Regions from separate parts of the Homo sapiens genome. Here all the other regions are linked to region 1. The links are contacts of gene promoters, found by promoter capture Hi-C in blood cells and fetal thymus (Javierre and others, 2016). All regions are on one chromosome and are shown on one strand. The core of a region is centred on a gene start or on the middle of the fragment in contact, and the rest is flanking DNA. Distances in the headings are between cores, read along the strand shown. Region 1 holds the start of ZNF267 (zinc finger protein 267). Region 2 holds the start of STX4 (syntaxin 4). Region 3 overlaps ZNF668 (zinc finger protein 668). Region 4 holds the start of PRSS53 (serine protease 53). Region 5 holds the start of BCKDK (branched chain keto acid dehydrogenase kinase). Region 6 holds the start of PRSS8 (serine protease 8). Region 7 holds the start of FUS (FUS RNA binding protein).

Region 1 (3,340 bases), core at 492-2,991:
GGAGTTTTTCTCCCTTCACAAATCTGAATGAATCTAGGGGGCAGGAATCATTTGTGACTGTTTCCCCTCAATACCAGCAAACGATTGGCTGACCAGCAATGTGTCTCCAAGGGATGAAAACTAGCTTTGAAGAAATAAAATCCTTATGTCCCAAGGGGTTATCTTTTTAGGTTAAGGGTGTCCCAGGAGATTTCTCTCAGCCCCAGGGCATCCAGCTGCTCCCCTGAGGGACTACATTTCCATACCTTGGGCGGTCCTCTAACAGGAGGTGACCTGGGGCTGACAGTCACTAAACACTCCAGGAGACATGGCCACTGTGGGCATCTTGAGTCATCCCAGACAGTTCTGAAATTCAGGAACAGGAAAAGACTGGATAGAGGGTGGCTATACAGGGCCCTGTAAAGTTTCCAAAGCAAAACCTCAAGTCAAAAGACATTCTTTCCGATAACGTGTCTGTGCCTGGGGAAGATGAATGAAAAAGAGGCACAGTTTTTTTTGCAGTGGAGTGTCAGGGATTTTTTATTCTCTGCTTTCCTCTCACGTGAAATGTATGCCAAAAAAACACAAATCTTTAAAAAAGTGTCATCCACTGCTCTGTGAAATCATGATTAATGAGTAAAATACTGTCTGAAATGTACAATAAATGACCAATAGTTAAGAATGTGAACTGGAGAGGGGAAGTTGGCCTTTGGAAATGTCGGGAAGGAACTGGAAATTTAATATTTTATTGCAAGCCCAGTTAGACTGGGGGAACACAGTGGTGGACTTGAGACTCTGCGTGCTACACGTTAGGAAAGCGCAGGGGGAAAACCAGTTCCCCTGGGCAGTGTTAAGATGATTAATGAGCAGGCGATTATACGGAAGTGGTTATAGTGCCCCAGGTTTCTAGGGAGAAAAACCAAAACCAAACTCAAATGCTTTTCTTGTAAATTACAACTTTAGGGGAAAACAAAATTCAGACTTAACGAACCACAAAGCTCCAATTCACCTCCACCTGCATAGTCTAAATAAGGCAACTACAAACTGTAACCCATCGGTTAATTTGGTCTGCTTCCTCATGCACCTTATAAAAACCTTTCCTTCAAGCCCCTCTGGGGATCTCCGAACCACAAACCAGGACTGCAGGCTTCCCATGTCACAAATCGCTATTTGCTCAAATTCTTCAACGTTTTAACAGTGACTCCCTTTAATTCTTAAGAGGAGTAGTGACTGAGGACCCCACAGGGCACGGTTTCTTCCCACACACCGAACCTGGGTCTCCCCTGAGACGCTCCCGTCCTCACCGCACAATCTGGGGGAGACGCGGGGCTGCGACGCGGAGCTGCCCAGAGAGGGCTCCGGCCAGGGACGAGGTCGCTCTGCGGGGTCGGGATGGGACAGGACACGCGGGGTCCCGGCTGCCGGCCTGGCCGCCATCTTGCAGCGGAGGGGACCGAGGGCCGAGCTGCACCAGTTGGGACTCGGGGCCCAGACCCCGAGGCTGACTGCGGGGAGGCCCGGGTGCCCCTACAGCGGGTTCCCGCCGCTTCCGACCACCGCCCTCCCTCCCTCTGGGGACCCCCGACCCCGCACACTCACCATTTCCCAGCTTCCGGGATGCCCTGGCGTCTTAGCTACGAATCTCCCAGTGCCTGCAAGTCGCAGAGCAACAGAGGTTCTGTTTATTCTCAGAACGCGAAGCCGCCTGGGCCTCCCAGAACGAAAGACTCGGAGCTGTGGCGAGGAGACCCGAGCTCTAACTGGAGCCGACGAAGGCCCCCGCCAAATCCCGGAAGCCGCCCCTGCTCTCCGGCTTCACTCCTGATTGGACGGTTTCCACTCCAGCGCCCCTGATTGGATAAAGCTCCATGCCCCGCCCCCTCATTATTAGTGCCTTTTTTTTTTTTTTTTTTGAAAGGGAGACTGGCTCATTGAGGTGGGGCCGCCTGCTGCGGGTATTACAGCTAATTAAGGGGTGAGCTGCGACTTGAAATACACTTGCTCTTTCCCTTACCTGGTTCTGCTTGTATAAGACATCTTATTAGCTAATTAAGTTTAAGAAGAAGTATATTTAGACACCTTTAAAGCAAGAAAGACCCTCATCCCGTCCCTTAGCACCTCTCTTACCGCACTGTACCCCACTGCTAACGCCACCGTGGGAGGGGGCCCCTCAGCTGGGAACAGAAGGCCGTACACTTCATTCACGTGTTTTCAATTAGGCCCTCGCATGATACATAGACTGAACCAGTGCAAAAGCATCTTATAGGGGCATGCAGGCTGGGGTCCCAGGAGGATGTTGCGGGCCGTGGTGGAACGTGGAAGAGGGGCTGGCCTATTCTTCTAATCTACAACTCTGCCCGCATCTCCTGGAGTCTGCATCACTGGTAACGGGGCCGCTGACTGTCCGTCTGTCTCTCCTTCTCAATCCCTTCAAGCTCAGGGAAGAAGGGTCCTTGGCAGCGACAGGGCTGGGAGCTCAGTTCCTCTGGGCCGTGCTGGCTCAGGCTCTGTGGCCACGGACTCCTCAGCCCTACCTCTGGTTTTTGCTTTTGTTTTGAGACAGGGTCTCACTCTATTGCCCAGGCTGGTGCAGTGGTGCAGTCATGGCTCACTGCAGCCTCCGGGGCTCAAGCAATCTTCCCACCTCAGCCTCCTGAGTAGCTGGGACTACAGGCACATGCCACCATGCCCGGCTGATTTTTGTATTTTTTGTAGAGATGAGGTTTCACCATGTTGCCCAGGCTGGTCTCCATCTCCTGAGCTCAAGCGATCCTCCCACCTTAGCCTCCCAAGTAACTGGGGCTACAGGTTAATAGTCAGTTCGCCAACTCCTGAGCTCAAGTATTCTGTCTGCTTTGACCTGCCAGAATGCCCTATTCCTGTTTTTCTGGAGTCTTGGAGCTAGTGGCGCTGCAGCACCTCGTAGTCTTCCGGCTGAGTAGATTCTCCTAGTCTTCTGGCTGAGTAGAAGGTGGGAGAGGAGGTGGGTGTCAAACTGGGCCAGGGCCCTCGGCCGCCATCTAGCTTGGTTAAACTCCCACTTGGGACAGATCAGGCTCTGTGCCTTATTCAGTGAGACGTGTGGAACAAATGCTTCCCTCCCCAAAGCAGAAACATCCCTGATTGCTGACAGTCAGGATTCCATGCACTTGTCTTGGCCTGGGGCATGGCTGCCTCTCACCCTCTCACCCAGTTCTAGTCGCTGCACTCTGTGGCCTCCCTGCCACCAGATTAGGTGTAGACAACGGGTGTGGGACAGGGCTGCTGACACCACTGGCTGACCAAACCCCTTTCCCACACTGAAGGGAGAAAAGACAGGAGGTTAGGGGCTCCCAAAGGCAGCACTGCTTGTGACAGCACC
Region 2 (3,340 bases), core at 553-3,052, 840 kb after region 1:
AGCTATTCAGGAGGCTGAGGCAAAAAAAGAAAAGAAAACATGTGTCCCACAGCCAAGACTAGGTCTTGTCTGGGGTCACAGTAACTTCCTATTGAATGGAAGAAAATAAAGCAGGGTGTTATAACCGGACTGAGCATCAGGAGACCTGGCTTCCTGACCTTGAGCAAGTTCTTTCTCTCTCTGAGCTCAGTTTCCCCATTTGGAAAAGTCATCCAATTGGACTCCATGATCTCTGCAGGCCCTTCCTTCATACACCTGTCATCTAATACTTCATGAAACATTTGCTGAAATGTCCTCATTTCTGAGAAAAAAAACCCACCTGGGTTTTTCTCATTCTTGTGTTGACGGAGTTATAGTTCTCATCAGCTTCCTCCTTCTGGGGCTCTATGGCTGTGGGAAGACACAGGGGTATTGGGGGTACTTGTCTCCATAGGATTTTTAGGGAAATATAATTTATCATAAAATGACTAAGGCTGAGCCTCTAAGAGGAGAAAGTAAGTTTATTTTTCTTTGCATTACATCACTGAGTTCCCATAGGTATGCAGAGGCCACCTAACAAAACTCCATCTCCCTGCCCAAAGAATGCCCAGTGGGCAGCGATAACTGTGTAAGTAAATGGTTTCATTGTAAATAAAAGAACCTGAGAGGCGGACTTGTGCTGTGGAGAGTACAATGGCCTGGAGGCCAGGAGACAGATGCTAGACCCAGGCCTGCTGTGTGACCTGGATATATCACTGGCTTCTCTGGGCCACACACTCCCCAGATATACCAACAACAGGGCAGGATCAGAGGGAAGGATCTGTCTGAGGTCCCAGGAGCTCACCCTTCAGCTGCAGGCGGATCTCCCTCCCCAGCTGTTTGATCTCATCGCGCAGGTTCTGCAGCTCCTGCTTCATGCCTGAATAAGAGAAGGCCAAGACTCCCAAACAGCAGCCCCCACCTCAACAAACCACTCTGGCCACCACCTGCGTGGAACTACAACCCCCACAATCCCTGGGGCGGAGCATGCGCCCTGCAGCCGGGGTTTCACTCACTCTCCTCGGGAAGGGGCGTGGCCAGGATGGTGACCTGCTGTTTCTCCAACTCCTGGACTTTATTCCCCAGTTTGACAATAGTCTGCCGAATTGTCCGGACCTGGGGAGGGTGACCGAGAGGGCTGAAAGAGATATGGGGTACTCCAGACCACGCTACTCCTCGGGTCCTCCTACACCCTCGCGAATCCAGGCGGAGACCCCAGCCCCTTACCTTGTGGAAGAACTCCTCGTCCGGGCTCCCCAGCCGTGCCGTGCCCGGGTGCACCACCAGCGCGACCCGCTCCTTGTCCTCTTCGTCCGAGCTGTCATCCCCCTGCCAGGCCCGGAGTCATTGGCACCACCGTTTCGCTGCGGCTCTTACCCCGCAGGACCCACAGGCTTCCGGGACTTTCCTTCCTGGCCATCAGCCACCCCTCCCTATCCCGAAGACCAGAAGTCCTGCGTTCCAGTTCGTCCGCCCGTCCCCATCCCCGCTGCCCTGGCGTCTCACCTGTCTCAGCTCGTGGGTCCTGTCCCGCATGGCGGCCTGAGCTCTCCCTCCCCGGCGCCAGAGCCGGGAGGCCCTCAAATTTGGAATTCCCGTACCCCGCTCACACTCTGACACTCCCCTCCCTCCCCCTGCGGACCCCAACACCCCCACGAGCCGCCAGAGGCTCCGTCCCTTGCACCGCCCACAGTCAATGGGAAGGCGCCGACCCCGGGGACCCCCCAAGGTTCCACAGGTTGGAATTCCCTTTTCTTCCCCGCTCCAGCTCCCGCAGCCTCAGCCCCGCCCCTCCGTGATAAATTCGGGGCATGCGCACATGGTCGCGTCTCTTCCTTGCCCGAGGCTGGGAAGGTGGAGTCGGAAGTTGTTGCGCCCCGAGCGGAAGCGGAGATGCCTGGACGCGAGAACTTGCTACCGTCACCGGAACCGTTGCATCTTCCAACGGAAATCTGGTTGCCAAAAGGGGTAGGAATACGTCATTTGTACGTAATCCGAGACACCCGCATCTCACATCACCCCATGGTGCCCCCACCGCGTCACGTGACCAGCCCGGTCCCAAACTCGTGGACCGCAGAATGTGACCCTGTGACTGTCACGTGTCCCGGCTCTGTCACCGCCGTCTCTGGGACGCCGTTCTCATCACGACGTCCCCGGCACCCCAACGACCGAGCGACGCCCACACGGCCCCCGCGAGGTGGGGAGGGGCGCGCCGACCACCCCCAGAGGCCTTTCGAGGCAGTGGGTGGTAGGACCCTTGCTGACCTCGCCTTTATTGCTTTCGGGTCCAGGGCGTGGGCGGACTGACGACTTAGCATTTGGGGCTGTCAGCATCATGGGACCTTGAAAATCGGGAAATAATAGGATCCGAGTCGTCAGCGTCAGAAAATTGCAGGGTTGTGTGGGCAGGGAATCTGGGGGTGGGAAGTGACCTCAGCCAAGGCAGAAATCTCTTCTTCCGCATCCTTCTGGCGCAGCCTCTGACAGGTGGGCGGCCAGCCGGCGCCCTCCTTGAACACTGCAGCCCGGCTGCACTCACCACCTTGTGAGCCGTCAGACCATGTCAGGGCAGCTCAGGCTAAGAAAAGTGTTTGTATTGATCACGCTGCCTCCCTGCCACTCACACCCCCCAGCCCCTGCCTTGCATCTGAGGCCAGGTAATGACTTTGTTCTTAACTGAATCTGGGGAGTTCCTAGCCCAGTACCAAGAACATTACGGGCCCTCTATAAATACTTGTGGACAGAATTTCAGGCTTTCATGTATCTGAGGATAAAGCCCCTGGTTCCTTGGTCTTCTTTAGGCTTCAGGCTTTCTGACTGTGACACTTCTCTAATCCTGGCTATCTAGATATTCACTCATTTTTTATTTTTAAAAATTTTTACGAGATGCGGTCTCACTATGTTGTCCAAGCTGGTCTCTAACTCCTGGGCTTAAGCAATCCTTCTGCCTCAGCTTCCCAAAGTGCTGGGATTACAGGCATGCACCACCATGCACAGCAACATTCAGTCATTTAATGGATATTTTTTGGGCACATAGTATGGGCCAAACACTGTTCTAGGGCTGGAGATACATCAAGGACTAATAGACAAAAATTCCTGCACTCGTGGAACTTATATTCTCTAGAAGGAGTCCCCAAGGTCACTCAGCAAGTCTCAGCATAGCCGGGAATGAATAACAGGTCTCCTGGACCCCAGGGCTCTGTCCAGGAAGCTTCTGTGAAGGTACAAGCAAGGAAAGGAATGGACCCTTTCTGCTATGCCCTGGTCAGGAAACCTAGATTCCTGGGACTGAGTTGCTATGGACTTCTGGAAATCGCTTCCT
Region 3 (3,340 bases), core at 292-2,791, 800 kb after region 1:
ACCCGCCGGCTGTCTCCGCGGTTCTGGGCTGCGGACACCCAGGCTCGGCCCGCGCGGCTGCTGGCCCGGCGCGGTGTGGTCCCGGGGGTCCTAGAGCCCGCCATGTTTTGGGTTTTTGTCCCGGTCGCGTGGCCCGCGCTGCAAGATCCCAGGCGCCGGCGGCCCCCTCCCCTGCTGAGGCCCGGCCACCACTCCCGCGGTCCTAGAGAACGCCATCTTGCAAGCCTTTGTCCCTCATTCGGCCTTCCGTCCATTCATTTGTTCATCTCCTCATCCTTCGTTCAGTCCTCCTTGCCACGTCCTCCGAAGCCACGTTTTCTGAGGCTTATAACCGGGGTCCTGCCCTCCAGGGGCTGCCTGGCTGGCGGGGGCGCCGCGTACAGACGGTTGCGAGGAGCGAGGAGCTCCGGGTTTCTGCAACTCTCGGCTCCTCGGCGCGCTTCGTAGGCCCCACCGCCCTTCAAACTCCCACAAACTTAAGGGACCCCATTTTACTGATGAGGAAACTGAGGTCCAGAGCGGCGTGGGGCCCTTACCTCTCTACTGCCATAAAGTATTCCTGAGGGCACTAGGGAAGGGGGTTCTTGAAGGATGTAAAGGGGCTTTCCCGTTGGAGAAGGCAGGCAAGGGCTCCCCGAGCCCAGGAAACTGCATCTAGAGGTGGAGGATTGAGAATTGTGGCTGGAGGTTCGGTCGCTGCCGGGAGGAGGACTCTGTCGCTGGAGCTGAGGCTGGAAAAGTAGGTTGGGATCAGGTTGTGAACTGGCCCGGTAGGAGGCCTAGGATATGATTAGCGCTCACTTCTGCAGGGTTCATCCGCTCACTACGTCACTCCTGGCCGTGAGGCCTGTGTGGTGACTGCTTGTTTAGAGATGGGAAGATTGAGGTGCCTCCTTTTTCTCCTCATCCCTGCCCCAGGGTCCTAGCCTAGGATTTTTGGAAATTGAATCTTTGCTTGCCTAGTGAGACAGCAGAACTTCATCCCCTTCCTAAGCCAGTAGTGAGGCAAAGCAAGGCTTCATCGCCACGACAGGGAGCCCACTGTGGGATATTGGGGCAATAGTTGAGCCTTGTGGAGTTGGAAAGGTGGAGGAATTTAGTTAATAAACAGTTATTGGTGGACATTCTCACAAACTCCTACTGTGGAGGAGGCAGAGGCTACAGACCTGGGTTCAAATTTCATCTGAGGTTGGTTCTTTCCATTTGTTTTGGGTCACCACACAGGGTTCTGGGTGTAGAGGAGGCAGATGATCGGTTTCCTAGCCCTTTGCCAGCCTGGACTCTGGTGCTGGTGATGAAGAATTAACAGCCAAACCATAAGATGTGTAATGCTAGCAAAGCAATAGTCAGGGCTCAGAGAGCAGGTGTTTGGGATTTGAACACTGGCTGGGACCGTGACTAGTAAGCTTGTTTCTTTGTGGTGTCACTTCTCATAAGAACGCTAATCCTACTGGACCAGGGCCATACCCTTATGACGTCATTCAGCCTTAATTACTTCCATAAAGGCCTTGTCTCCAAATACAGTCACAATGAGAGTTAGAATTTCAATATATGAATGGACAGGGAACACAAACATTCACTCATAATGAACTGCTAGGCAGCTGTGCAGTTGGCTTGAGTAGTTGAGTATTATGCACAAAATGCTTAGAATGATACCTTGCCCATGGTAAGCTTGCAAGGAGTATTGTCCAGATGACACCATAAAGGAAATTAGAGAGGAGGGGTGCTGGTCACTGTGGCTCATGCCTGTAATCACAGCACTTTAGGAAGCCATAGTGGAGGAGCATCTGAAGCCAGGAGTTCTTGAGACCACTGTCGGCAGCGTAGTGAGACCTCCATCTCTATATACAAAGAATTTTTAATAAATTAGCGAGGTGTGGTGGTGGGTGCCTATAGTCCTAGCTACTCAGGAGGATTGCTTGAGTGCAGGAGTTTGAGGCTGAAGTGAGCTATGATTGAGCCACTGCACTCCAGGGTGACAGAGTGAGACCCAATCTCTAAATAAAAATAAAGGCCAGGCACGGTGGCTCACGCCTGTAATCCCAGCACTTTGGGAGGCTGAGGCGGTCGGATCACTTGAGGTCAGGAGTTCGAGACCAGCGTGGCCAATGTGGTGAAACCCTGTCTCTACTAAAAATACAAAAGTTTGCCAGGTGTGATGGCTTTCGCCTGTAGTCCCAGCTACTCGGGAGGCTGAGGCTGGAGAATCACTTGAATCCGGGAGGTGGAGGCTGCAGTGAGCTGAGATGCAGCCACTGCACTCCAGCCTGGGCAACAAAGACTTTCTCTCAAAGAAAATAAATAAATAAAAATGAAATAAATAGGCCGGGCATGGTGGCTCAAGCCTGTAATCCCAGCACTTTGGGAGGCCAAGGTGGGTGGATCACCTGAGGTCAGGAGTTCCAGACCAGCCTAGCCAACATGGCCATCTCTACTAAAAATACAAAAAATTAGCTGGCTGTGGTGGCAGGCACCTGTAATCCCAAATACTTGGGAGGCTGAGGCAGAAGAATTGCTTGAACCCAGGAGGCAGAGGTCGCAGTGAACTGACATCACACCATTGCACTCCAGCCTGGGCAACAGAGGGAGACTCTGTCTCAAATAATAATAACAATAAATAATAAAATAAATAAAAATAAGCCAGGCACGGTGGCTCATGCCTGTAATCCCAGCACTCTGGGAAGCCGAGGCAGTGGATCATCTGAGGTCAGGAGTTCGAGACCAGCCTGGCCAACATGGTGAAACTCCATCTCTACTAAAAATACAAAAAATTAACCAGGCGTGGTGGTGGATGCCTGTAATTCCAGCTACTCGGGAGGCTGAGGCAGGAAAATCTCGTGAACCGGGGAGGCGGAGGTTGGAGTGAGCAGAGATGGTGCCATTGCACTCCAGCCTTGGCAACAAGAGTGAAACTCTGTCTCAAAAATAAATATATAAATAAAAATAAAAACATTTTTTAAAAAGTAAAGAGGGCTGGGTGCGGTGGCTCATGCCTGTAATCCAAGCACTTTGGGAAGCCAAGGTGGGTGGATCACTTGAGGTCAGGAGTTCAAGACCAGCCTGGCCAACATGGTGAAATCCTCTCTCTACTAAAAATACAAAAATGAGCCAGATGTAGTGGCGGGCGCCTATAATTCCAGCTACTCGGGAAGCTGAGGCAGGAGAACCGCTTGAACCCGGGAGGCGGAGGTTGCAGTGAGCAGATATTGTGCCATTGCACTCCAGCCTGGGGGACAGAGTAAGACTCCGTCTCAAAAAAAGGGCCGGGCGCGGTGGCTCACACCTGTAATCCCAGCACTCTGGGAGGCCGAGGCGGGCGGATCACGAGGTCAATAGATCG
Region 4 (3,340 bases), core at 538-3,037, 780 kb after region 1:
GGGTAGTCTCATCTCCAGTGTGTGGAGTCAGCAAGGCCTGGGGCACCATTGGCCCCCACCCCCAGGAAACAGGCTGGCAGCTCGCTCCTGCTGCCCACAGGAGCCAGGCCTCCTCTCCTGGGAAGGCTGAGCACACACCTGGAAGGGCAGGCTGCCCTTCTGGTTCTGTAAATGCTTGCTGGGAAGTTCTTCCTTGAGTTTAACTTTAACCCCTCCAGTTGCCTTATCGACCATTCCAAGCCAGTATTGGTAGCCTTGGAGGGTCAGGGCCAGGTTGTGAAGGTTTTTGTTTTGCCTATTATGCCCTGACCACTTACCTACATGCCAAGCACTGTTTAAGAACTTGTGTTGGCAGGGTGCAGTGGCTCACACCTGTAATCCCTGTACTTTGGGAGGCCAAGGCAGGAGGATCACTTGAGGCCAGGAGTTCCAGACCAGCCTGGGCAAAATAGTGAGACCCCTGTCTCTACAAAAAAAAAAAAAAAAAAAAATTAGCCAGGCATGGTGGTGTATGTACCTATAGTCCCAACTAATCGGGAAGCTGGCGGGAAGACTGCTTGAGCCCAGAAGGTTGAGGCTGCAGTGAGCCATGATCACTGCACTCCAGCCTGAGCAACAGAGCAAGACCGTCTCCAAAAAAAAACAAAAAACAAAAAAAAACTTGTGTTAACGTGTTAAACTCGTTTAATCTTTACAGTGATTTATGAGGTGGGTACTATTATTATCCCTATCTTGATGATAGGGACAGAGTGGCTAATTAGTATGCCTGAGATCACACAGCTACTGCAGGAGGCTCTCAGGATTTGAATCCACCTGGTCCATCTGGCTCCAGCATCTATATGCTTTTTTTTTTGTTGGTTTGTTTTTGAGACGGACTTTCGCTCTTGTTGTCCAGGCTGGAGTGCAATGGCACAATTTCGGCTCACCACAACCTCCACCTCCCAGGTTCAAGTGATTCTCCTGCCTCAGCCTCCCGAGTAGCTGGGATTACAGGCATGCGCCACCAGGCCTGGCTAATTTTGTATTTTTAGTAGAGACAGTGTTTCTCTATGTTGGTCAGGCTGGTCTCGCACTCCCGACCTCAGGTGATCTGCCTGCTTTGGCCTCCCAAAGTGCTGGGATTACAGGCGTGAGCCACCATGCCCGGCCAGCATCTATAATATATGCTAAACCTTACCCACAGCTGCCTCTGTCTTGGGGTCAGGGTTCTTGAATGGTCTGGGCCAGCCTGAGTTAGGAGTGGGAAGAGGAAGAGGAGGCACGCGCCAAAGTGTTCTTCCCGCCTGACCGAGTCCTCTGCGCCTATGAGGAAGGTGGGCACCGCTGTCACCCTGTTTCCCAGGAAGCCAGCAGGCCCAGGGAGATACTGGGATTTGCCAAAGGCTCACAGCGAGCAAGCAGCAGTGGGTGCTGGCTCCTCACCACTCAGCCTGGCACACACTGTCTCTGAGCAGACCTGGGAGAAGGCATGTGAAACCCACCTAGCCCTGGCTGGAAGAGAAGTGGGGGAGTGGAAATGAAAAGTGGGGACTGGGAGGAGCTGCCCACGTGCCCTCCATGGTTCCAGGATGGCACTTTCATGCTGGGAGTGAGCTTGCCCTGTGCCAGGCTGTCATTGAGACGTTTTCCATTCAACAACTGTTTCTCAGACAAGGCACAGGCAGGTTAGCTCTCCCAGGCCACTCAAGTAGTAAGGAAACAGATTTAAACCCAGACAATTTGGCTCCACGGCTAAGGCCCAGAGAGGGGTGGTGACAAGCCTAGGGTCACACAGCCACAGCCCCAGAGCTAGGAACTGCTGGCTAGGGCAAGCAGACAGCTGAATCCTAGCCAACTGGAGGTGGAGCAGAGGTGGAGCCAGGGAGACCCAGGTGGCCTCTCTCAGAGTGGAGCACAGGTGGCAGAGTGGCCCGGGGCAGCATGAAGTGGTGCTGGGGCCCAGTGCTGCTCATCGCGGGTGCCACAGTCCTCATGGAGGGTAAGCCGCCATGTGCTGGGGTATGGGTGTGGCCTGGTGGGGGCTCAGGGGCCATCTCTGCCCCAGCAGTCCCTGCTTCTTGGTGGGGGGACCGCCTGTGGGCGACAGTCCACCAGTGGGGATGTAACTCCGTAGGACTCTGTGGGGTGGTATATGTGGCCACCTGTGTCAACATGGATGAGATTTTCTCGGGCCAGCTGCAGTTTGCGTTGGCGGGGCCTGTGGTCTTGTGTGTGTGTGAGGTGCTGCCTGCGTGTGTCCTGTGCCTGCCTCCCCCTCGACTTCCACAATGACGTCAGGCAAACTCTGGGCTCCTCTGGCCTCAGTTTCCCTTTCTTTTCATCCATCCTCTGGGCAGCCTGGCTCAGCTGTCTCATGGGGTGCCTGTGTGCCTGTGAGGGGCGGTGGGCAGGGGCCCTCTCTCTGGCGGGCTCTCAGACAGTTTCTGGGAAGGTGGGGAAGACTGAGTCTCTAGACCAGGGTGAGGTAAGTCTCCATTTCTTGGGGCCCTCCCCACTTGGAAATGATGCAGGCCTCTAATCCTTCCTCTTAGGCCTCTGCTGCTAAGAGGACAATTAAGCTAATGCTCTCTACACACACAGGCCGCCTGGCTGACTCAGTGGCGGGGGCAGGAGTTGGGGGTTCTGAAGCCTGGAGGAGGGCTGGCCTACTCCCAAGCTGAACCCCAAGCCCCAGAGTGCTGAGCACAGCTGAAGGAGAATTAATTACTGAGTGTGCACACTGAATAGGTTCCAATAAAAGCTGTCTCGGCCTCATATAAATATTTTCATTCTGGGAGGGGCTGGTAAGGTAATCAGAGTCACAGGCAAGGACCCTGGGCCCGCCCCCCAGCCCATCCCCTCTCCTCCCCAAAGCTAGGCAGGCCTGGAGTCCCTGCATCTTACCTGTGTCTCTCTCTTCCCAGGTCTTCAAGCCGCTCAGCGTGGTAAGGTCTGGGGACACGGGGCCTAGGTCTTACTTGGGTCTGGGTTGGGACTGGGGTGAGGTCAGGACAGGTATCTGCTGTCAGTGTGACTAACTCCTTTCCACAGCCTGTGGACAGCGTGGCCCCGGCCCCCCCAAGCCTCAGGAGGGCAACACAGTCCCTGGCGAGTGGCCCTGGCAGGCCAGTGTGAGGAGGCAAGGAGCCCACATCTGCAGCGGCTCCCTGGTGGCAGACACCTGGGTCCTCACTGCTGCCCACTGCTTTGAAAAGTAAGTCATGGCTGGGGTCAGGCAGGGTCTCCGGCTCTGGGGAGTGGACAATTTGTCTCAAGCCCCACAAGGCTAGTCCCTGCCTCTAGAGTAATAATAAAGAACCATTTACTGAGAATCTGCCATGTACTGGGTACATATTGTCAA
Region 5 (3,340 bases), core at 379-2,878, 770 kb after region 1:
CCACCTACCCATGGGGATCACCACCCAGCTGGTCGACCACGTGATCAAACCCCCACTTCGACCCTTCCAGGCTCCGTGAATACACACCTTTGGCTTCTGAAGGCCTGGGGTTGAATCCTGTGTGGCCCTGACACCTTTAGGCAAGCAATCGTCTGCCACTCTGGGCCCCAGACTCCCCACTTGCCCCCGGGGCAGGGTGGCCCGCTGACCTAAGGTCCTCTCTACCTTACCACGTGCAGTATGGTGGGGTTGCAGCCAATGATGAAAGGAAGGCAGCGGAAGCCCTTGATGCGGTGAGCAATCCTCACTGGAAGTTCTTGCTGCAGGTACCGAGCACTTTTCTGGGAGAAAATGAGAAGGGAAGGCGGGGCTGGAGCCTGAGTGTCTGGGAGAGCTCCAGGATCCACGAGGAAAATAGAGGGCGTGAATCTTACCAGAAGGTGGCTGCCGTCCTGAGAGCGGCCAGCGTAGAGCATCATGGTGGGCGTTAGGCGGACTGAGGGCTAGAGAGGGAGAGAGGCCTTGAGCAGAGAACCCCCAACACTCTCCCTCCCGCCTACATCCCGGACCCTGGGCTGGCTGCCCCCTTGCGCACCTTCTCCGCTGCCGCGTCGATGGCCGACTGGTTGTAAAAGGAGGTGACGGTCTTGGAGCGCTCCCGAGCCATCTCCACGTGGTGTGTGTCGGTGGCCGACGTCGAGCGGGCCCGGAGCGCGAGTGCGGGTCCCAGGAGGGGCCGGAGCGGAAGCCCGCCCCCGGGACCGCTCCTCAGCACCGACGCCAGGATCATCGTCTTGCTCCTTTCAGACCCGGTGGCCGCTAGGACTGAGGATCCGCTAGGACTGAGGACCCAGGCGACCCAAAATGGGGCAAGGGGGTGTGGGTGGGTAGGGGCTCTTCTCCGACTTCAGGGACCAGGGTGCGTCGAGGATGCTGACAGGCTCAGCCCGCGGAGAGCAGCTCCCATCTACCGGGGCGGGGAAGAGGAAGTTGTAAGGATCCGAATCCACAGAACCCGCACCATCTCTCCACCTGTGCATCGGTCTCCCCAGACCCGGGCGACCTCTCCCCACCACTCCCACCGTCTCCCCAGATGCACACAGGCCGCGCCCAAAGGACCTAGCCTCCCGGGGGCTTCTATTCCCCAACCCGAGGCTCTACTGGCGGTGGGAGGGCTGTCGGGGGAGGAGCCCCTCAGACCCTTCCAGCCCGAAAACCTCGCCCCAGCGCCCCGGGGTCCCGGGTACCCTTCTCAGGGGGCGGGGCTGCCCCTGCCTGCCCAGCGCCTTCAAACCCGGGCCCTGGGAGCGCGGCCAGCGAACGTGCGACACCAGCCCTGGGCCCCTGGGGCCGGCTTGGGAGGGTGCGGCACGGAGTCCCCAGCGGGACCCCCCACGCGGGTCACTTGGTTCGGCCCGGATGCCCCCCATATGGTAGATGCCAGCCCCGTCTGCGCGCCCGCGCTGTGATGGAGGCTGCGGACGTGCGCCGCGGGGCCTCCGCGGACTGAGTAGGCTGGGGTCGCCCCACTTACCGCGGGGCCGGAGCCAGGGCCCGGGTCCCAGCGGAAGGGCTCGAACAGTCCACTCGCCAGGCGCCCAGCCGCCTGCGCCCTCCGCCGCCGTGACGTCGCGTGGGCGGCAGCGCCCGCTGGGTCCTGGGAGTTGTAGTTTGGTCTGAGGACGTGCCGTCCCGGGCGCCCGCGCATCCAGGCCACGCCCTTGCTCCCGGACCCCAAACAGCACCGCTTCCTCCACACGGCTCTCGAGGCTCTCCGTGTCCCTCCCAGCCTCTATCTCCTGCTCTATGAAACGGGCTCCCTGGGAGCTGGAAGATCTTAGATGTAAAGCGCACAGATCACGCCCTACCTGACTCCTTCTCGGAGCTCTTGTCCTCCTTCCAGTTCTTGGTTCATTTATGGGTAACCAGGCTTCAAACCCCAGCTCGACCCCTTAATATCTGGAGCAAGTTATTTAACTGCTCAGTGCTTGGTAAGATGAAGAGATATCATCAGTTTTGGGGTTGTGTGGATTACATGAATTTATATGAGTGCCTAGAACAGTGCCAGGCGTGGAATTAGCACTATATAAGGGTTAGGCATTATTATTATTCACTCATGCCTGCAGATAATGCAAGTCGCTGACTGGGTGTCTTTTCTGCACCAGGAGAGGAGATTGGGCAGTGAGTTGAATAGATCTTTCCGTGCCCTGCATAAGAAAACAGTTTCAGTATCATTGGCTGTGATGAGGACTTTCAGAGGAGGCTGCGGGAGCCTCAGATAGAAACTGAGACAGCTGTGTAGGTGCAGCCTGAGTAGGACTTGCAAGGGAGCGGGGTGGGAAGGGTGTGTGGCAGGACAGACAACAGCCCAGATGGTCTGAGGATATGGCTGGAGCCATATGGGATCTGGGAAGGAGAGGGGCGGCAGCAGAGAGCGAAGGATAAGTCTGCATTTGTCCTAGGGTAGTTAGGAACTACTGAAGGGTTTTAACTGGTGGGCTCTCCTCCTTAGACAGAACCCCTTGTCTGCAGTGATTTAGAGTGGGGCGTTTGGTGAGACCAAAGGCAGAGAAACCAATAAGAAGACAATTACTTTAGGCCAGGCGCAGTGGCTCAGGCCTGTAATCCCAGCACTTTGAGAGGACGAGGTGGGCGGATCTCAGGAGTTCCAGACCAGCCTGGCCAACTTGGCAAAACCCCGTCTCTACTAAAAATACAAAAATCAGCCGGGTGTTGTGGCTGGCGCCTGTAATCCCAGCTACTCGCGAGGCTGAGGCAGGAGAATCGCTCGAACCCGGGAGGAGGAGGTTGCAGTGAGCCGATATCCCGCCACTGCTCTCCATCCTGGGCAACAAGAGCAAAACTCCGTTGCAAAAAAAAAAAAAATTATCCAGGCAGGAGGCGCTGGAAGGGACACGTTTCAGTGTGTGCACGTGCATATGTGTGTAGTGTGTATTTGTACTAATTGCAATTTTCTTTACCATGGTTATATATTTCCTAAATATGTTCAATAAAAAGTGCTAAGTGAAGCAAGTGACATCTTTGGAGGCTATCTTTATTTATTTATTTGGAGATGGGGTCTCGCTCTGTTGCTCAAGCTGTAATACAGTCGCTCCATAGTAGCTCACTGCAGCCTCCGACTTAAATGATCCTCCCACCTCAGCCTCTCAAGTAGCCGAGACTGTAAGTGTGCACCACTACCCCCAGGGTGATTTTTTCCCCCTCAGGCAATCCTTTTGCCACAGCCTCCCAAAGTGCTGGGATTACAGACGTAACCCACCGTGCCTGGCCTATTTTTCTTAGAGCCGGGGTCTCGCTATGTTGCCCAGGCTGGTCTCAA
Region 6 (3,340 bases), core at 528-3,027, 740 kb after region 1:
TTTCTTTGTATTTTTTAGGAGAGACGGGGTTTTACCATGTTGGCCAAGCTGGTCTCAAACTCCTGATCTTGAGAATGATCCTCCCACCTTGGCCTCACAAAGTGCTGGGATTATAGGTGTGAGCCACCACATCCAAGCTCCACAATTTTTTTTGTTTGTTTGTTTTTTGAGACGGAGTCTCGCTCTGTCGCTCAGGCTGGAGTGCAATGGCGCAATATCTCGGCTCACTGCAACCTCCACCTCCTGGGTTCAAGCGATTCTCCTGCCTCAGCCTCCTGAGTAGCTGGAATTACAGGTGCGTGCTACCACGCCTGGCTAATTTTTGTATTTTTAGTAGAAATGGGGTTTCACCATGTTGTTCAGGATGGTCTCAAACTCCTGACCTCGTGATTCGTGTGCCTTGGCCTCCCAAAGTGCCGAGATTAGAGGCGTGAGCCACCACACCCAGCCTCAACAGGTGTTTTGAACGGCCAGAGTGGCCCTCAAGGAGGATACATGCCTCACTCCCACCGCAGCCACACGGCAAGCCTTCTTTCCCTGAGCCTCTGCCCTCTGCACCCCATCCCCCCATCTTCGCCTTACCACCTTTTATAATCCCTTTCGGTCTCAGTTTCCAAGGCAATTCCTCGAGGACCCTTTCACAATGCCAGCCTTTGCCAGGCTGTGGTGTGCTCACGCCATTCTTTTTCATCACTATTCCTAGCTTGAAATTATTGTGTAATTGCAATTTTTTTTTTTAAGACAGGGTCTCCCTCTGTTGCCCAGGCTGGAGTGCAGTGGCGTGATCATAGCTCAATGCTTCGTTGAACTCCTGGGCTCAAGCAATCCTCCTGCCTCAGCCTCCCAAATAGCTGGAACCATAGGCATGCGCCACAATGCCTGCCTAATTTTTATATTTCTTTGTAGAGATGAGGCCTCGCTATATTCCCCAGGCTGGTCTGGAACTCCTGGCTTCAAGTGATGCTCCAGCCTCAGCCTCCCAAAGCCGACTAGCCACCTTGCCAGCCTGTTTGTGATTATTTGATTGAAGTGTGTCACCCCTACTTCACCATGAGCTCAGGGCTCAAGGGGGACGGGGCTGGTGCCTGTTTTGTCCTGGACACCTGGGAACATCATAGGCACTTAGGAAATGTCTGTGGGATGATTGGTGCTGCTCCACAAGCTCGCCACCACCCATGAGGTGCAGGCATCGCAGAAAGGGCCTGGCAGGGGACAGACCATAGTGTCTTAAGCTCCCATAACCAGCCTAAGGAGGGAGGGAAGAAGGGAGGAGTGGCTGTGGCTCCAGATAATAAAAGCTGGGGCCAGGCCCTGGGGGGCATAACTGGCCTGAGATAACCTGAAAGACCTGAGGCGGAGGAGAGTCGTCACATTCCAGGGAGACTGCACACACACACAAACCACATGCACGTGCATGCACGCACACTCAGACACACACACTACACACACAGGGACACACACAGCCTACACATGTGCACATACAGCCTGTACATGCACACACACACACATACCACACCACATAAGAGGACACACACAGCCTACACAGGCATACACACACACCACATACACACTACACACCGGGACACACACACAAAAGGCCTATGCATGTGCACACACATACACACGGACACATACATGCACACACACGGGCCTGCAGCTCTGAAAGGACTCATGACTTTGGTGGCAAGAGGAGCTGGCGGAGCCCAGCCAGTGGGCGGGGCCAGGGGAGGGGCGGGCAGGTAGGTGCAGCCACTCCTGGGAGGACCCTGCGTGGCCAGACGGTGCTGGTGACTCGTCCACACTGCTCGCTTCGGATACTCCAGGCGTCTCCCGTTGCGGCCGCTCCCTGCCTTAGAGGCCAGCCTTGGACACTTGCTGCCCCTTTCCAGCCCGGATTCTGGGATCCTTCCCTCTGAGCCAACATCTGGGTCCTGCCTTCGACACCACCCCAAGGCTTCCTACCTTGCGTGCCTGGAGTCTGCCCCAGGGGCCCTTGTCCTGGGCCATGGCCCAGAAGGGGGTCCTGGGGCCTGGGCAGCTGGGGGCTGTGGCCATTCTGCTCTATCTTGGATTACTCCGGTCGGGGACAGGTAAGTGAGGACGTGGGGGCAGGGTGGGGACAATGCACTGGAGGGAGCCGGCGTGATCATTTTCTGGGGTGTGCCCTTGTCTGGGGCCCAAGAAAACCCCCGGCCTCCCTAGCTCTTGGCCTCTCTTTCCCACCTTGGCTCTGTCAGGGAAGGGGCCAGCCCTCTGGAGCAGTGGTGGGTACTAAGGGGTCAGGGAACCCGAGTCTTCCCTACTCACCCCTCCTCTTTCTCTTTCTTTCTAGGAGCGGAAGGGGCAGAAGGTGAGACTTTCCTCGGAGAGGGAGGAGGGGAGGGGGAGGTGACTTGGATCGGATTCCCCTGGGGTTTAACCAGTGCCTGGCCTTCAGCTGGGCTGCCTTCCAACTAGATTCTCTTAGGGCTCCCAGAGTGGGGGGTTTTAGCCCTCACCTTATGGGCAGAGAAGCAGGGACTTGCCCAGGGCACACTGCCAGTGAAGGTGCAGCTGGGATTCAGATCCACGTCTGACTCCCAAAGTGGGGCAATCGAGGTGGTTTTTTTGGTTTGGTTTTTGTCTTTTGAAACAGGGTCTGGGTCTGTCGTCACCCAGGCTGGAGTGCAGTGGCCCGATCGCAGCTCACTGCAGTCTCAGTGATCCAGCCTCCCGGGCTCACGTGATCCTCCCACCTCCCCACCTCAGCCTCCCTAGTGGCTGGGACTACAGGTGCATGCCATCACACCCAGCTAGTTGTGTTTTGTTTTTGTTTTTGTTTTTGTTTGGTAGAGATGTGGGTCTCACTATGTTGGCCGGGCAGGTCTTGAACTCCTGGGCTCAAGCGATCCTCCTGCCTTGGCCTCTCAAAGTGCTGGGATTACAGGTGTGAGCCACCGTTCCCATCCTGGAGGTGGTTTTGAGGGAACCAAACCAAGGGTCTCCTTTCTTGGAAGGCACCCAACCCAGCTCTGAGTCAGACCGGCTTTCAATCCTGGCTTCCCCATGCACTGGCTGTGTGTCATTGGCCAAGTCCCCCCACTTCTCTAAGCCTTAGACTCCTCACCTCTAAAATGAAGCTGGTCATGTCCGTCTCCTGGGGCTGTGGAGAGGATGCAGGGAGATGAGGAAGCGAAAGCCCCTCCAGGGCCTGGCACAGCCGCTAGGCTCTCTAAATAGTGGCTATTGTCATGATGATAAGGGAGAGAAAGATCTGGTCTGCAATTTTCTCTGCTCCTAGATGACTTTGTGAAGAGCAGTTGGGCTCCACTCCAAAGTGGCCTCAATGGGGGTGGGGCTG
Region 7 (3,340 bases), core at 341-2,840, 690 kb after region 1:
TCAAGAGACTAACTCTCCCAACGTCGCAGAACTACCAAAGTGGCACAGGTTTGAATTCGAACAGTGTTCAGATTGTGGCCTCTGCTCTCTCAGCCCAGACCCACAGAATAAGAAAGTCTCAAAAAAGGCCATTCTTCACTCTTTGACCAATCCCGGAGATGAAGTGGGCTTTTTAGTGCAAAGCCAGAGAATCAAAAGAGCCCTTGGACCCCAAATGACAGAGATCATGCAACTGCTCGCCTTAGGAGGCGAAAGTCAACAGGTACTCGAGTCCCCAGCCCTGGGACTCCAGATGGTTCCGTTTTCTCACCTACCCTGCCTTCCCCCAGCGAACAAAAAGCAACAAAAGCGCTTTTGAAAAGCCCCACTTAAGATACACGAACAAGATCAACTCATCCTCCCAGCACAGGAAACGCGGCGCTTCCCCCGCAGGAAAAGGGAAAGAGGACCAGGAGAGGGTGTGGCCTCGGGCGGCCGTTCTTCTCCGTCCCTATCTCAGAAAAAAGAAATTTAGACCAGGCGTGGTTGGCTTACGTCTGTAATCCCGACACTTCGGGAGGCCCAGGCGGGCGGATCACCTGAGGTCAGCAGTTCGAGACCAGCCTGACCAACATGGTGAAACCCCGCCCCTACTAAGAAACACAAAAATTAGCCGGGCTGTGGTGGCGGGCGCCTATAATCCCAACTACTCAGGAGGCTGAGGCAGAAGAATCACTTGAACCCAGGAGGTGGACGTTGCAGTGATCTGAGATCGCACCACTGCACTCCAGCCTGGGCGACAGAGGAAGACCGTGTCTCCAAAAAAAAAAAGAAAGAAATTTAGGCGGGAAAAACTCTCGGGCCGTCCCCAAGTCCGTTGGTCGAACCCTGACCACCGCCGCCAAACCGTTAAGCTAGAGGGCGGCCCCGATCCCGAGCCTCCGCCCCCAGCCGCGTGGCAACCCAGGCGGGAACGGAGCGATCCCGCCCATTCGCGAAGGACCACTGAGGGACAAGGCTCACACCGGACGCGCGCCGCCGAGTCTTCCGCGAAGGGTCTCGCGACAGAAAGCTGAACCAACACGAGGCGGGGAAGGGGTACCCGCGCCGCGAAGGGGGAGGGGCCCGCAGAGCGCGTGCGCGCCGCGAGTGCCCGGATGCAGCACTGCGACAAAGCGGGCTCGAGCGCGGGGCCGGGAGTTGGGGGAGGCGAGGCCACGGAGAATGGGCGTTTTCCACCCTCACCTGACGCTTCAAACCCCTAAGAAGCGTCCCTCCCAACGCCCACCCCAAGCAAACGGACTGCAAAGAAAAGACTTCCCGCCCCGCGCGCGAGGGCCAGAGGAGCGAAACAAAATGGCGACACCAGCCTCCTCCAGTTACTCTTCTCCGCGGCTTCCCGCCACAGGGGCGCCAAAAAATCCCACACGGGATCGCCGCCCCGGTCCCACTGAAAACGAAAAGCCCAGCTGGGAGGCCTCGGCCGGGTGCGCCGCCGCCGTCGCCTCGCGCCCTTACCTACCGTTTGAGGCCATGTCCGCGCACGCGCGCACAGGCAAGCAAGCAACGAAGTTCCAACACCGCTGAGTACCGACGCCTGGAGGACTGAGCAGCCCCGCCTCCTGCGTCGAAGCTTAAGTACGCTCCGCCGCCTACGCACCGCGCAGGCGCGCACCAAACGCGGAAGAGCAGGGGGAGGCAGGAACGCACTCCGCCCCCTTCGTAGGGCAGGTAGAGGGTCCGAGCAGGCAGAAGGGAAACAAGTTAACTAGAATCATGCGAATACTATACATAATCATATTTTTTGAGGAAGAACCCCTCTCTCCTCGGCAGGACTAGCCCACGATCTATCTCCACCCCCATGAAGGCACAGTGGTACGGCCTGAGTGCCCGCTGGGGGCGGGGCGAGGGGGCGGTCCCGGCGGCTGGGGACGAAACTGGAGTCACAGCCGGGAGTAGCGGGGTGGAACCGAGATTCCTGTGGCCGGGCCCCTTCGCTGGGCCCCGCTTTCACCCAGGATGGCGAGCTCCTGCCCTCCACCCTCTTGCCGCTGTATGGGGCGCCTCGTCCCCGCGGCTCCAGCCTCCCTCGTCGGCAGCACACTGGCCCTCCCTCTCCTGCGCCCTGAGGTTGACTTCGTCGTCTTTCAGGGTTGCCTTGCCTTTCGGCCTTTCTGGGGTTCGGGGATTATGACGTTTGACCTGAAAGACAGCAGGGATTTCGGCCGGGACCCCTGGGCCCCGGGCTCGTCCAGCACTGGGCTCTCACCCGGATCCTCATGGCTTTGCCCCTGGGGAGCCACGGGGCGGAACAGCCCAGGCCATCCTTGGGACCAGAGAGGGTTGACCTCAGATGTACGGTACCCAGCCTTTTCTCAGGGACCTCCTTTTTATTTTTCTGAAGCCCTACCAGGGCGATCCCAGAAATAAAACGTGTACAAGGCTTAAGTGGTTTCAAAATGCACAGATAATTTCCTTGTCATCAGTCTTACGAAGGAAGTAAAGATACCTCCGTTTTCTAGATAAGGAAAGTGAGACTCAGAGACCCAAGTAATTGTGCCTGATTACAGGGCAGCTAAGAGGAGTCGTGATTCGAATCCAGGTCTTGTAACTGCAAAACACTCCTCTTTTTGGTGGCATGAATGCTAGAGTGTTTGGTCGCCTTTTCACTTCCTGTGAGAGCAAAAGCAAAAAGAAACATTCAAATTAACTTGCAACTTGCACTTTCATCAGCCTTGCCTGGAGAAGGCAATTTGAAACTACTGAATAAAACAAGACAAAAGACGTTAATTCCTGATACATAGGCATGCAGGTTTTCCTTCCCAACTTAACCTTTCAGCGGGATTTCAGAAGGTCCTTTGAGGGTTGGACACGTCTTTCTAGAGAAACAATGAGGGCCATGCCCTGGGCCCGCCCACAAATTAAGCCCCACTAAGCCCTTGACTTCAGCCCTAAAGGCCCTGAATATGCCAATATCCACCCCACCGCCTTTGGAAGGAGAGTTCAACTCTCCAGTGAGAGCAAAAGAAAGGAAGTCCACCCTTATTCATGCATTAAGTCACAAATATTTATTTAGCACCTAGTATGTTCCAGGCACTGTTCTGGGCACTGGGTATGCATTCGTGTACAAAGCAGATGAAGTTAACATTTAATAATAAAGCTGACCGGGTGCGGTGGCTCACGCCTGTAATACCAGCACTTTGGGAGGCCGAGGCGTGTGGATCACGAGGTCAGGAGTTCGAGACCAGCCTGGCCAACATGGTGAAACCCCGTCTCTACTAAAAATACAAAAATTAGCCAGGCGTCGTCCGCGCATCTGTAATCCCAGCTACTCAGGAAGCTGAGATGGGAGAATCGCTTG

The links. The method cuts DNA at HindIII sites, captures the fragments that hold promoters and counts their contacts. A CHiCAGO score of 5 or more calls a contact.
Region 2: the fragment with the promoter of STX4 here is called in contact with the fragment with the promoter of ZNF267 in region 1 in 16 of 17 cell types (naive CD8 T cells, activated CD4 T cells, non-activated CD4 T cells and 13 more); the score reaches 25.2 in naive CD8 T cells.
Region 3: a contact is called between a fragment that was not itself captured here and the fragment with the promoter of ZNF267 in region 1, in 1 of 17 cell types (fetal thymus). The highest score is 5.2, in fetal thymus.
Region 4: the fragment with the promoter of PRSS53 here is called in contact with the fragment with the promoter of ZNF267 in region 1 in 7 of 17 cell types (non-activated CD4 T cells, activated CD4 T cells, fetal thymus and 4 more); the score reaches 12.3 in non-activated CD4 T cells.
Region 5: a contact is called between the fragment with the promoter of BCKDK here and the fragment with the promoter of ZNF267 in region 1, in 3 of 17 cell types (non-activated CD4 T cells, fetal thymus and monocytes). The highest score is 8.2, in non-activated CD4 T cells.
Region 6: a contact is called between the fragment with the promoter of PRSS8 here and the fragment with the promoter of ZNF267 in region 1, in 16 of 17 cell types (naive CD8 T cells, non-activated CD4 T cells, total CD4 T cells and 13 more). The highest score is 32.5, in naive CD8 T cells.
Region 7: a contact is called between the fragment with the promoter of FUS here and the fragment with the promoter of ZNF267 in region 1, in 17 of 17 cell types (non-activated CD4 T cells, total CD4 T cells, activated CD4 T cells and 14 more). The highest score is 39.2, in non-activated CD4 T cells.

What each region holds. Positions count from the first base shown.
Region 1 is chr16:31,872,208-31,875,547 of GRCh38, reverse strand. It overlaps ZNF267 (zinc finger protein 267), which reads right to left and starts at 1,741. Exons shown (of 4, transcript NM_003414.6): 1 at 1,579-1,741. The coding sequence starts at 1,581. RefSeq lists silencers at 1,460-1,539, 1,690-1,739 and an enhancer at 1,626-1,920. The HindIII fragment of the contact is 12,710 bases long and covers 1-3,340 here.
Region 2 is chr16:31,032,020-31,035,359 of GRCh38, reverse strand. It overlaps STX4 (syntaxin 4), which reads right to left and starts at 1,802. Exons shown (of 11, transcript NM_004604.5): 1 at 1,525-1,802; 2 at 1,246-1,347; 3 at 1,035-1,134; 4 at 824-898; 5 at 320-390. The coding sequence starts at 1,554. RefSeq lists enhancers at 944-1,454, 1,967-2,478. The HindIII fragment of the contact is 4,602 bases long and covers 1-3,231 here.
Region 3 is chr16:31,070,139-31,073,478 of GRCh38, reverse strand. All of the region lies in intron 1 of ZNF668 (zinc finger protein 668), which reads left to right. It also overlaps a transcript of ZNF646 not described here. Among named protein-coding and RNA genes, the nearest start is that of ZNF668, 2.4 kb to the left of the region's middle. RefSeq lists a silencer at 1-88 and enhancers at 1-271, 1-363. The HindIII fragment of the contact is 265 bases long and covers 1,409-1,673 here.
Region 4 is chr16:31,087,390-31,090,729 of GRCh38, reverse strand. PRSS53 (serine protease 53) reads left to right here and starts at 1,787. Exons shown (of 11, transcript NM_001039503.3): 1 at 1,787-1,978; 2 at 2,904-2,924; 3 at 3,031-3,193. The coding sequence starts at 1,921. RefSeq lists an enhancer at 1,610-2,110. The HindIII fragment of the contact is 23,145 bases long and covers 1-3,340 here.
Region 5 is chr16:31,106,674-31,110,013 of GRCh38, reverse strand. BCKDK (branched chain keto acid dehydrogenase kinase) reads right to left here and starts at 1,628. Exons shown (of 12, transcript NM_005881.4): 1 at 1,535-1,628; 2 at 596-967; 3 at 435-503; 4 at 231-341. The coding sequence starts at 790. RefSeq lists enhancers at 118-1,010, 1,011-1,904 and a silencer at 1,236-1,775. The HindIII fragment of the contact is 13,040 bases long and covers 1-3,340 here.
Region 6 is chr16:31,134,164-31,137,503 of GRCh38, reverse strand. It overlaps PRSS8 (serine protease 8), which reads left to right and starts at 1,777. Exons shown (of 6, transcript NM_002773.5): 1 at 1,777-2,090; 2 at 2,333-2,350. The coding sequence starts at 2,006. RefSeq lists an enhancer at 2,716-3,340. The HindIII fragment of the contact is 17,481 bases long and covers 1-3,340 here.
Region 7 is chr16:31,178,389-31,181,728 of GRCh38, reverse strand. It overlaps FUS (FUS RNA binding protein), which reads right to left and starts at 1,590. Exons shown (of 15, transcript NM_004960.4): 1 at 1,502-1,590. The coding sequence starts at 1,514. RefSeq lists enhancers at 315-364, 465-524, 555-644, 70-830, 831-1,592 and 4 more and silencers at 875-924, 1,045-1,194, 1,835-1,904. The HindIII fragment of the contact is 6,651 bases long and covers 1-1,614 here.